Linked DNA regions of Homo sapiens: regions 1 and 3 are each linked to region 2. The links are contacts of gene promoters, found by promoter capture Hi-C in blood cells and fetal thymus (Javierre and others, 2016). All regions are on one chromosome and are shown on one strand. Each heading gives the region's core, a stretch centred on a gene start or on the middle of the fragment in contact. The rest is flanking DNA. Distances are from core to core; before and after follow the strand shown. Region 1 has its middle 15 kb from the start of SLC22A17. Region 2 holds the start of ZFHX2 (zinc finger homeobox 2). Region 3 holds the start of PABPN1 (poly(A) binding protein nuclear 1).

What was found. Contacts are between HindIII fragments. The CHiCAGO score rates a contact against its expected background, and 5 or more counts as called.
Region 1: a contact is called between a fragment that was not itself captured here and the fragment with the promoter of ZFHX2 in region 2, in 1 of 17 cell types (megakaryocytes). The highest score is 7.2, in megakaryocytes.
Region 3: the fragment with the promoter of PABPN1 here is called in contact with the fragment with the promoter of ZFHX2 in region 2 in 9 of 17 cell types (megakaryocytes, erythroblasts, activated CD4 T cells and 6 more); the score reaches 11.1 in megakaryocytes.

What each region holds. Positions count from the first base shown.
Region 1 is chr14:23,336,240-23,339,975 of GRCh38, forward strand. No RefSeq gene overlaps it. Among named protein-coding and RNA genes, the nearest start is that of SLC22A17, 15 kb to the right of the region's middle. The HindIII fragment of the contact is 3,474 bases long and covers 1-3,200 here.
Region 2 is chr14:23,549,926-23,553,625 of GRCh38, forward strand. ZFHX2 (zinc finger homeobox 2) reads right to left here and starts at 1,840. Exons shown (of 10, transcript NM_033400.3): 1 at 1,418-1,840. It also overlaps a transcript of THTPA not described here. RefSeq lists enhancers at 632-1,294, 2,144-2,193 and a silencer at 1,774-2,013. The HindIII fragment of the contact is 16,619 bases long and covers 280-3,700 here.
Region 3 is chr14:23,320,159-23,324,033 of GRCh38, forward strand. It overlaps PABPN1 (poly(A) binding protein nuclear 1), which reads left to right and starts at 1,299. Exons shown (of 7, transcript NM_004643.4): 1 at 1,299-1,662; 2 at 2,023-2,137; 3 at 2,841-2,908; 4 at 3,219-3,325; 5 at 3,807-3,875. The coding sequence starts at 1,312. It overlaps BCL2L2-PABPN1 (BCL2L2-PABPN1 readthrough), which reads left to right. Exons shown (of 8, transcript NM_001387346.1): 4 at 2,023-2,137; 5 at 2,841-2,908; 6 at 3,219-3,325; 7 at 3,807-3,875. RefSeq lists enhancers at 390-1,040, 729-798, 1,052-1,863, 1,864-2,673 and silencers at 1,199-1,628, 1,689-1,758. The HindIII fragment of the contact is 8,249 bases long and covers 1-3,875 here.

The DNA.
Region 1 (3,736 bases), core at 214-2,713, 210 kb before region 2:
TTCCAACAAGGAAGGCAAGTTTTCCTGCTCCCATGATGTTGGAAGGCAGGTAACAGGTAACTCCTTTTTGGAGTTTTAGCTAATATCTAACAGGGAAGGCAAGTTTGAGTTTCTTCCTGCTTCTAGGAGGGTAGAGAGTAGTCTTCAACCTGAGACCCATTTTTAGGTAAGAAGCTGATTTGGTTTTCTTGCTTGCTTGCTTGCTTTTTTTTTGTCTTGAAAATTCTCCATAATGACTAAAGGTTAAAGTTGACAACCAGCTGGTCTTAATTTCTCCTTACCATTAGAGCGCTAAGTGATCATATTGTTGGTTTTTTTTGTTGTTGTCCCTTTCTCCCATTGGATTTGACTAACTCTACCTGTCTTGGTCAAATCCTAATGAGAATTCCAAATTATGGGGAACAAGGCCTCTGAATAAGTTAAAATTTCTCACAGCTGTAAAAAGAAAAAAAGAAACCATGGGCTTAGTTTCTGTGTTCGCTGTCTTAATTTTCATCCATCCTATTCCTCCTTCCCCTTTGCCATCTTCAGTACCAAGAAAAAATCTAGAGAAGGCTTCTAATGACTTGAATTCCTCAAATAACTCAAAACAAAGGTGCCACTCATCCCTTTTGGAGTGTTCTGTTTTCTTTTTGAAGTTTCAAGAGTTATAGGCAGATTCTTCTTCGGTCTAAAGTTCTGCTCTCCTGTATTGCATTACCTGATCTCTTTGGCTTTGGGGGATACCAAAGATTACTTTGCGCTGTGTGAGGATTTTACCTTGGTGTGTGTAATGGCGGACAAGTGCTACAAAGTTAGGGGTGGCTAAGAACAGTTTACAGAGAGTGGTCTTAGATTTTTTTTTTTCCTCCTGGGAAGATATTTAGGACCCTAATTCTAGTTTGGAGGTACATTTTAAATAGTGTCTTGTCCGGCTGGGTGCGGTGACTCATGCCTGTAATCCCAACACTTTGGGAGGCCGAGGTGGGTGGATCACGAGGTCAAGAGATCGAGACCATCCTGGCCAACACGGTGAAACCCCGTCTCTACTAAAAATACAAAAATTAGCTGGGCATGGTAGAGTGCACCTGTAGTCCCAGCTACTTGGGAGCCTGAGGCAGGAGAATTGCTTGAACCCAGGAGGCGGAGGTTGCAGTGAGCCGAGATTGTGCCATTGCACTCCAGCCTGGTGACAGTGACACTCTGTCTCAAAAAAAAAAAAAAGTGTCTTTTTCATTGCCTTTCCTCTTGAAATTAGTCTTGATTGGCTGCTCTGTGCATTTGTGGGAGGAAGTGAACTGTCTTTTTCATAGATAAATGAGAGACTGAGTTTCCACAGCTCCAAAGAGAAAGAGCATTTTGCTCTTCCCAGTCAAAAGGTGCCCCTGAGTGCCAGGGGGCTAAGTGGGAATGTTGGGGGGTTGAGCCCCCATGATGTGCAGTGGCCCTACAGGGAACTCCAAACAAAATTAGTTTAAAAAGGCTCATCCAGGAAGCACATATAGGAGCTGGTCACCCCATGCTATCAGCCCTCCCGGAGATGCTAGACCTCCAGAGTAAGAAACTGAGACACACTGTGTGTGACACACTGTGGAGTCCCACCCACAACCAGCACACTTTTCCCCACTCCACCAAACTCTAGGCCACAGCTTAGTTCCTCCTTTTAAGAAAAAATGTGGGAAATGAATTATCTAGGAATGAGGACAGACAAGGAGAATGACCCTTCTCAGGCACCCTGTTTGGTTTTATGACCCTCTACTTGCAAGTGGTTGTGTAAATGGAATGGCACACCAGGTTTTCTAATACTCCGGCTGGTTACACATCGGGTCTGCTCTTGTGCACATTTTAAACTGATGGGCAAATCACCTCAAAGAGAATTCAGAGCCTGAAGGTCAATCTGCAACTATAAACTTCCGAAGTTCTCTATTTCTTTGCTTTCTTTTCTGTCTGCTTTAAGTCTGCTGTTACTTTTCTACTGAGATAAAATCCACTGTTTGTATCCAACCATTTCTTTTGTTATTGTTTTTGCAAACCAATGAGTTTGTATTAATATCTCATGGCTAACATTCTGAAGTAAAAGCTATAGGATCTTTGGTTGTATGAGTGTGTATGTGTGTTTATGTGTACATACATGGATTCTGTTGTGTTTTGGGTCACAAGGTAACAAATTGGCTACCAATTATAGATTATCCATAAATTAAATAATAAGCCCAAATGCATTTCAAGTTTACATGACTTAAGTAAAATCTTTAATAAGCTAGCTTTAAGATTGTTGGTAAAGTAATATTTGAAATGTCTTAAGACTTGTCAGCATACATTTTTGTTTGCATTTATTGATCAAGTGATTTCATACTTATCTCTGCTGAATACTATAAGGTGTCAAAATTTGGCATAAGGGTTATAAAACTATAAACCCAGCAAAAAATGTAATGATTTTTGTTTGTGTCATTTTTAATAAAAAAGACATTAATATTGTTGATTTAATGAAAACAGCTAAATCTTGAATTATTGGTAAAATAATCATATATTTAATCTTAAGGTACTTACTTAGGTAATCACCTAAAATTCACAAGCTGTAAAAATGGTTGACAGGGAAATAACTTTAAATAATGACTATCACAATTTTCATAAATAATCTAGTTTCTCTCTCTGGAGGTCTATTTTCACATTGCTATAAAGAACTATCCAAGATTAGGTAATCTATAAAGGAGAGAGGTCCATTGATTTACAGTTTAGCATGGCTGGGGAGGCCTCAGGAAACTTACAATCATGGCAGAAGGCAAAGAGGAAGCAAGGCACCTTCTTCATAAGGCAGCAGGAAGGAGAATGAATGCAGGAGGAACTACCAAATACATAAAACTATCAGATCTCATGAGAACTCACTCACTATCATGAGAACAGCATGGGGTAAACCACTCCCATAAGTCAATTACCTCCACCTGGTCTCTCTCTTGACACATGGGGATTATAGGGATTATAATTCAAGACGAGATTTGGGTGGGGACACAAGCCTAACCATATCACTAGGTAAACTATTAAAATAATTAGGTAAATGTAATAGAAACTTGTAAACAAACTTGTCATAAATTAGAATCTAAAGTTAAATTAAATATTTCATTAAATGTCTAGGTATTTTCCAATTAAAAAAATTATAGTGTAGGAGAACATTCTTTCTAAAAAATATGTTCTTATTAAAAGGTGAATAATTTTTATCTATTCAAAGCTTATTTAAATGTTATGTGTAAAACAAGGTAAAAGGAACCAGGAAATAAGAGAGATGCAAAGAAAGTTATAGAAATAAAGAGGTATTTTTGGTAAGAAAGCTTAAAATAATTTTATATGAGAAAGAGTCTTGTATGGTGAATTTTTGTTCTAAAATAAAATGAATGGGTTGTTCAAGAAAGAGGAATATTTAGGACAAGCCAAAAGTCCAAGCATGTTGTAAATGGTCTAAGTTGTAATAAGGTTAGTAAAAAAGGAATTTATAAAAATGCAATTAATTGGCTCTAATTAAAGGAAATTATAGTAAATAGTTTTTCTAAAAATTGAACTTTGATATTAAAAATACACCCACAAAAACCTAAAGAATTGGTTAAAACAAGATTTCATTTAAAATAGAGTTACTTAATGTAATATGGTTAGGCTTTGTGTCCCATTTTCATCTTGAATTTTAATTTAACATCCCTCCTAGGTGTTGAGAGAGAGACCTGGTGGTAGGTGATTGGATCATGGGGGTGGTTTCCCCCATGCTGTTCTT
Region 2 (3,700 bases), core at 590-3,089:
AGAAGAAAAGGTAGGAAGAGGGCAGATTATGGGAACAAAGGTGGAAACTCAGAGCTCATGGGAAACAGATGGAAAAAAGGGGTGAAGCAAAATGGGGAAATAAAAAATATACAATGATACAGTGGGGGAAGGGAGTAAAATTAAGTCAGCAGGGAAGAGGTTTTGTTGTGCGAAGCTCCTGGAAAGGCAGATGACACGCATGAGACCAGAAGGTGAGGTTCTGATGAGGGAGACAGGCACATGGCAAAGGGGACAGTCAACAATGCTAGGAAGTTCCAAAGCTTCTCTGGTGATGGTGGAAGAGGAGGCTGTCCTGGCCATGCTGAAGGCACTAGAGGCTTTGGCGAAGACACATTTGCTCCATCATCCCACTCCTCCAGGCCCTGACTGTGACCACCACAATCATGACTGATAAGCAAATTCCAAAGTAGCCTGAAAAGGCCAGAGATATCCAGACAGACTCTGAAGGAGAGGGCATGGAATCCTAGACCGACAGAACAGGCAGCCAAGGCGTGACACATAGTGATAGAGACACACAAGGAGAGGATCACTCAGATGGGAAGGGTCACAAGTGGAGACAGTGACATACAGATCCAGAGATGGATGGGATGGAAGAGACAAGATGAAGAACAGCAAAACCAAAAGTCAGGGACACATGGACAGAGATCAGCGGGGCTACAGGCACAGCGAGGAAGCGTGGTCCTGTGCTTGAAAATGATAGGGCTGCTCAGAGGGGCAGACGAGCGGATGGGGGTGGTAGGATGGGCGTGCAGGACAGACACGCTTCACCTTGAATGGGCTTATGGCCTCCCCTCACCTACTCAACACTTTCAAAAAAAGGAATGGAAAGCCCAACTTCAGCCAAAAACGAACGAAGACTGAGAGTATCCACGTCCCCTCCCACTCCACGCCCCAGCGCGCTAGCCCATCCATCAGCCCGCCGGCCGCGGTTCTCCCATCCCACAGCCGGCGGGGGGCCGCCGAGACCCAGGACCCTCCAGGCTGACAGCTCTGAGCCCTCACACTCACCGGGCCTCCCCTTCCCCCCGGGATCCCCGCTCCCTGCCCAACTCGGCGCGGTCCGTCTAGGCTTTCCATACCCTTCGTCTGTCCGGCGGGCCTCTGCCTTTCCCGTTCCCGTTTCTCCCTCCACCCCCGCATCTCTCTTCCCCCATCCTCGCGCACGCCCTCTTCCTCCCACACCCCTGTCTGCTATCTCCCAGGGCTCTCGGTCTGTCTGTCCGTCCGTCCTTGTCCCCTCCCCCAGCCCCTTCCCGTCCCTCTCCGTCCCCTCCAGCGGCAGTCTCCAAGCGCCTCCTCTCCCGTCTCGAGCTTCCAAAGAGCAAGGAAGGGAAGAAGAGAGAGAGGGAGAGGAGAAAAAAACCAACCCAGCAGCATCGGAAATCGATGCACTTACACCTCAGCTGGAAGCAGGGACGGGAGTCGAACCGCGGCCACCGAGCAGCGCGAGGCGGGGAGGGGAGGGGGCGGCTCTTGGAAGGGACTTCTCCGATGTGTTGATTCCTCTTTTTTCCCCTCCTCCTCCCTCCCTCCAGCGCTCGCTCCGGGGCGTCAGGGACGGAGACGGAAAAAAATAAATAAATAAATTCACGGCGGTGAGGGAAGTGAAGGAAAATAATCAATGCTATTTGGCTGCGGCTGAAGTGTTTCCCCGGCTTCGTGAGGGGGTTTCCATTGATTCACCCTGGGCACTCGCTCGCTCCCTGCCTCCTCCTCCTCCTCCTCCTTCTCCTCCTCGCCCTCCTCCTCCTCCTCCTCCTCGCCCTCACTCCTCCGCCTCATTCACTGGCTGGAGTCTAGGCGTCCCACACAATGGAATAATCAATACCCAGGCGCCCGGGGCTGCCCCACTGAGCAGGTGCAGCGACCCGCCCGCCGCGGCGCATGCCGGGAGTTGTAGTCTGTTCGCGCCCGCCCGCCTGCCTCGCGGGACCCAGGGCCGGGGGCAGGCCGGCCAGCCCACCAGGTCGCCTCCAGGTTCAAGCCGGTGCCTGCAAAGAGGGCAGGCCCCTTTAAACTCTTTTCCGTCTCCTCTCCTCTTCATCCTGTGGCCTGCAGAAACCATACATGTGTTTTGTTGTTTTGTTTTAAATCAGCTTCAGAACAAGCCCTGAGCCGCCCAAGGCCTCCTTTTTTCATTCTCTTCTTCCTGCCTTATTATTCCGCCTCCCCCATCTCCCCCCGCGAAATTGGGTACTAGAACCTTCTCTACCGCAGCAATTACTCTTTAGTCTCTGAGAGCTTCTGCCTCCTCCACACGGTTACATAGTCCCCTGAGCTGGGTTGGGGGAGGTTCGGGCTCCTCCTCATCTTCAGTTTATCGCTTATTAAGTGCTCCTGAATTTTTTTTTTTTTTTTTTTTCTGGAGACGGAGTCTCACTCAGTCGCCCAGGTTGGAGTGCAGTGGTGCGATCTCGGCTCACTGCAACCTCCACCACCGGGTTCAAGCGATTCTCCTACCTCAGCCTCCTAAGTAGCTGGGATTACAGGCATGCATCAACACACCCAGCTAATTTTTGTATTTTTAGTAGAGACGGGGTTTCACCACGTTGGTCAAGCTGGTCTCGAACTCCTGACCTTGTGATCCGCCTGCCTCGGCCTCCCAAAGTGCTGGGATTACAGGTGTGAACCACCACCGCGCCCAGCCCGTTTTTTTGTTTGTTTGTTTTTTTCTTGAGACAGAGTCACTCTGTCGCCCAGGCTGCAGTGCAGTGGCATGATCCCGGCTCACTGCAACCTTCACCTCCCAGGTTCAAGTGATTCTCCTGCCTCAGCCTCCCAAGTAGCTGGGATTGTAGGTGCCCACCACCATGCCCTGCTAATTTTGTATTTTTAGTAGAGACGGGGGTTTCACCATCTTAGCCAGGCTGGTCTCGAACTCCTGACCTCAGGTGATCCACCGGCCTCAGCCTCCCAAAGTCCTGGGATTATAGGGGTGATCCACCTCACCCGGCCGCTCCTGTATTCTAATAATAATTTTTAAGATTTCTTGAATGCACAGGGACAGTTCCAAGCACTTTTACATACATTGTTTACTCCTCTCAATACCTCAAGCATGAGGTAGATGCTATTATAGTCTCATTTATTGAGGAAACTAAGGCACAAACAAGTGAATTAACAGGCCCAAGGTCCAATGGCCAATAAGTAAGTGACAGTGCCAGGACTCAAAAACCTCCATGGTCTGGCTCCAGGGCCCATACTAACTGCTATAGCCTACTTCTCTTAAACAACACAACAAAACCCTGAAGTTCACATGACAAAAAGGAGAGATAAATGAACATTTTGAGTTTATACTATGTGACAGTTTATGACTGAATCCTCACAGGTAACTGTGAGGCAGGCCACATTTTCTCAATGAAAAAGCAGAGGCTGGCCGGGCATGGTGGCTCACTCCTGTAATCCCAGCACTTTGGGAGGCTGAGGTGGGTAGATCACCTGAGGTCAGGAGTTCGAGACCAGCCTGACCAACATGGTGAAACCCTGTCTCTACTAAAAATACAAAATTAGCTGGGCGTGGTGGTGGGCACCTGTAATCCCAGCTACTCGGGAGGCTGAGGCAGAAGAATCGCTTGAACCCGGGGGGCAGAGGTTGCGGTGAGCCAAGATCACACCATTGCACTCCAGCCTGGGCAACAAGAGTGAAACTCCGTCTCAAAACCAAAAACAGGCCGGGCGTGGT
Region 3 (3,875 bases), core at 49-2,548, 230 kb before region 2:
CTCTGGGATCTTGGGGGCTTGAGGGCTTAAATGAAGGGTGGCACCCAAATCCCCAATCAATGCCTGTTCAATCAACAAACATCTAACAGGACATTATGTGGTAGGCATATTGCCAGGCCGTGGAGATGCGAATATAAATAGGAACCGGCCCCTCATCTGCAGGCGCTCACAACCTAGTTAGGAAACAGTAAAACAATTAAGCGCGCCGTGGAGATAGGCCCACTTGTCCTGGGAAATGAGGGGAAGCTGGGGTTTGCAGTGGTTTGATTGAAGGGGGACTACATGTTAGAGGCACAGACTGGGTGCAGGTACACCCAAAGGAACGAGAAGAGTGGAAGGAAACAACATCCACAAAGTAACCACATGCTGGCGTATCGAAGGCCGTGATTTACGGTTTTGAGACTTTACCTCGCCAGCAAAGGGGGGCCAGTCTGTTAGCGGTGCAGATTGGAGGGGTGACATTGGAAGCTGTCCAGGAAAAAGAAAATGGAACTGGGGAGCAGAAGGCCTACGCAAGAGGGCGGGACAGACAGGACTTGTGACTAGTAGCTCTGGACTGAGGAATCCTCCCTGCTTTCTGGTGCGGGAGAGCTAGTGGATGATGGTGCCAATAACCTGGATGGGGAAAGTAAGCTCCCTCCTGGAATGCTTCATTCACAACCTCCATTTTCAGCAACATCCCATCTACTGGTGCTTCCTGGTCGAGATACAAGTTTCCTGAAACTGCTGCTCTGTTTTGGGCCTCACCCGGCCAACAGCTCACTAGCTGGCAAGCAGTAGTATCAAGATGGCGGCCCCCTAGGACTGGCTAGTCATGTGACCTCGGGTTTCCCAAGTTTGAAGCCCGGCAGTCCTTTCGGGGGCAAGGTTCACCTGTCACGAAACGAGTGTCACCCCTTCGACTCTCGCAAGCCAATCGGCATCTGAGACTGGGCCACTGCGGTGAGGCGATCGGAAGATTGGTCCTTTCCAGTCGCCTAGCTAGGGCCAATCACGGAGCGTCCCATACTTCGCGGGCCCGCCCGTAGGCCGGGGAGAAGCAGGAATATCGTCACAGCGTGGCGGTATTATTACCTAAGGACTCGATAGGAGGTGGGACGCGTGTTGATTGACAGGCAGATTTCCCCTACCGGGATTTGAGAATTTGGCGCAGTGCCCCGCCTTAGAGGTGGGGCCTTATTTGATTGCCAAGTAATATTCCCCAATGGAGTACTAGCTCATGGTGACGGGCAGGCAGCTTGACTAATGAGTCCTCGGCGTGGCCGGCGCAGCTCTCCAATCGCCGGGCGGCGGGCCCCAGTCTGAGCGGCGATGGCGGCGGCGGCGGCGGCGGCAGCAGCAGCGGGGGCTGCGGGCGGTCGGGGCTCCGGGCCGGGGCGGCGGCGCCATCTTGTGCCCGGGGCCGGTGGGGAGGCCGGGGAGGGGGCCCCGGGGGGCGCAGGGGACTACGGGAACGGCCTGGAGTCTGAGGAACTGGAGCCTGAGGAGCTGCTGCTGGAGCCCGAGCCGGAGCCCGAGCCCGAAGAGGAGCCGCCCCGGCCCCGCGCCCCCCCGGGAGCTCCGGGCCCTGGGCCTGGTTCGGGAGCCCCCGGCAGCCAAGAGGAGGAGGAGGAGCCGGGACTGGTCGAGGGTGACCCGGGGGACGGCGCCATTGAGGACCCGGTGAGGGAAGGAGGGCGAGCGAGCAGGCCGGCGGCTGGCCGGCCGGGTCACTGGAGGCCCAGAGCTCGGGCGAGCGGGTGGCAGGCGGGGGGTGGGGTTGGGCGGGGAATAACGTGGCTGGGGCCGGGTCGGGCCGGGGATGGGTCAGCGATCACTACAAGGGGCCCGACTGGCTTGATTCGGGCGTCACGGTTGCCTAGTGTTGTTCTAGAGAGGGTAGCTTTTCTTTTATCACGACCCTCGCATGGGGCGAGGGAAATGGCCGAGCATGGCTGAGGCCGCGCTCTGGCCGAGAGCAGGGCACAGCCCCTGCGTTGGTTCCTCTTAAGCTGTCCTCCATACCCTCCCCACTTATATTAGGAGCTGGAAGCTATCAAAGCTCGAGTCAGGGAGATGGAGGAAGAAGCTGAGAAGCTAAAGGAGCTACAGAACGAGGTAGAGAAGCAGATGAATATGAGTCCACCTCCAGGCAATGGTGAGTAACTGGCGGTTGCACGCGGAGCCCGGGTTCTCGGGTTGGAAGGGTTGTGGGGAGGATGGGGAATGTGGGGTTAGATACTCGGCACCCTGGAGCTGCTTGTCTGAGCTATTATGACTGTGCCGCGGTCATAGTCCGTTGTGTGTTCCTCTGACCTTTGTGAGGCAGAACGTATATTTTGGTGGTGGTAGCCTTGTGCCTCCCTTTGTGCCTGTTATAATTGTGTTGCTCTTTGTTCTTAGTCTACGTCTATCTTTCTTTGTAGAGGTTGCGTGCTCGCATTTGACCTTCAAATCTAATAGTTTTTCCTCCAATTGGAGACGCTTTAGGATTCTAAGAGAAAGCAAGCTGCAAGGGGTTTCCCCTTTAATCTAGAAATGTGGAGTCTCAGCCCACTTAATTTTGCTCACTCTTAAAAGCATTTCAACCAAAGCCATTCATTAGGGATTTGATTTGGAGGCAGGAGGGATTCCTATACTGTTTTAAGTGTGTATTAATTCTTTCAATTTATTGAATATTTAGTGAGTACCTGCTATGCACTAGGCACTATTCTCGGTTGTGGGTACAGCAGGGAACAGCACAGACCAAAATCTTTGCCTTCACTGAGCTTATGGGATAGTGCTGGTGGTGGAAGTGCAACATATTGGTCAAGTAGAAAACAAGTGTGTGGTTTTTGTAAAAAATTATTTTTTCCTGATAGCTGGCCCGGTGATCATGTCCATTGAGGAGAAGATGGAGGCTGATGCCCGTTCCATCTATGTTGGCAATGTACGTACTGGGGCTCTGACTGGGGTTGGGGGCAAGTTCTTCTTTTGGGGAATTATTTAATAGTCCTGAAAGGAACATCTCCGGGATAGATGTGGTTTTGGGTGTGGAGGGAGTGTGGGAAGGAGGTTAAAGGTAATGGAATGATCAGTAATCAGCAAAGGCTCTGGGTTTGGAAGGAAAAGAGATTAATTCCTCAAATTACCAGATTTCATGTGCTTTGGTGTATGATGGCCCAGACCAAAGGCTCGGGAGGGTTCCTTTTGAGACAGGAATTTGCCTGGTGCCTGTGAAATTTTTCTCCTCTCATCAGGTGGACTATGGTGCAACAGCAGAAGAGCTGGAAGCTCACTTTCATGGCTGTGGTTCAGTCAACCGTGTTACCATACTGTGTGACAAATTTAGTGGCCATCCCAAAGGGTAAGTAAAGGGGAGTAAGTTGAGATAATTTAAATTACAGTGTACAAATAGATAAATTATGTTTTATATTGAGCAGTAAGTTATTTGGTGTTAACACAGGTGATCTGTGTCATTTAAGATCATGGCATTAATGTTGATATATCAGGAGTTGCACCTAAATGTCTTCAGAGGCCAGATAACAAAAATGAAGGCTAGATGTGGGTGGGATTACGAACTAGAAGGGGAGGGGCAGCTTCTACTTGGCCTATTATGGCCATATGGAAATTCAGGCCCTGTGTGTCTTATTTTTACAAATTTCAAAGAGTAGCTGGAAATTTTAAAATTTAAATGATTTCGAATGATTGAAATTTTCCATTTAGAAGAATTTTGACAAATAAAAAATATAACTGCATTGTAGCCCAAAACGAAGCATGCCTGCAGGTTGAATTTGACCTGTGAGGTATTTGTAACCTCAGAGAGATACAATGACAATTCTTTTCAGGTTTGCGTATATAGAGTTCTCAGACAAAGAGTCAGTGAGGACTTCCTTGGCCTTAGATGAGTCCCTATT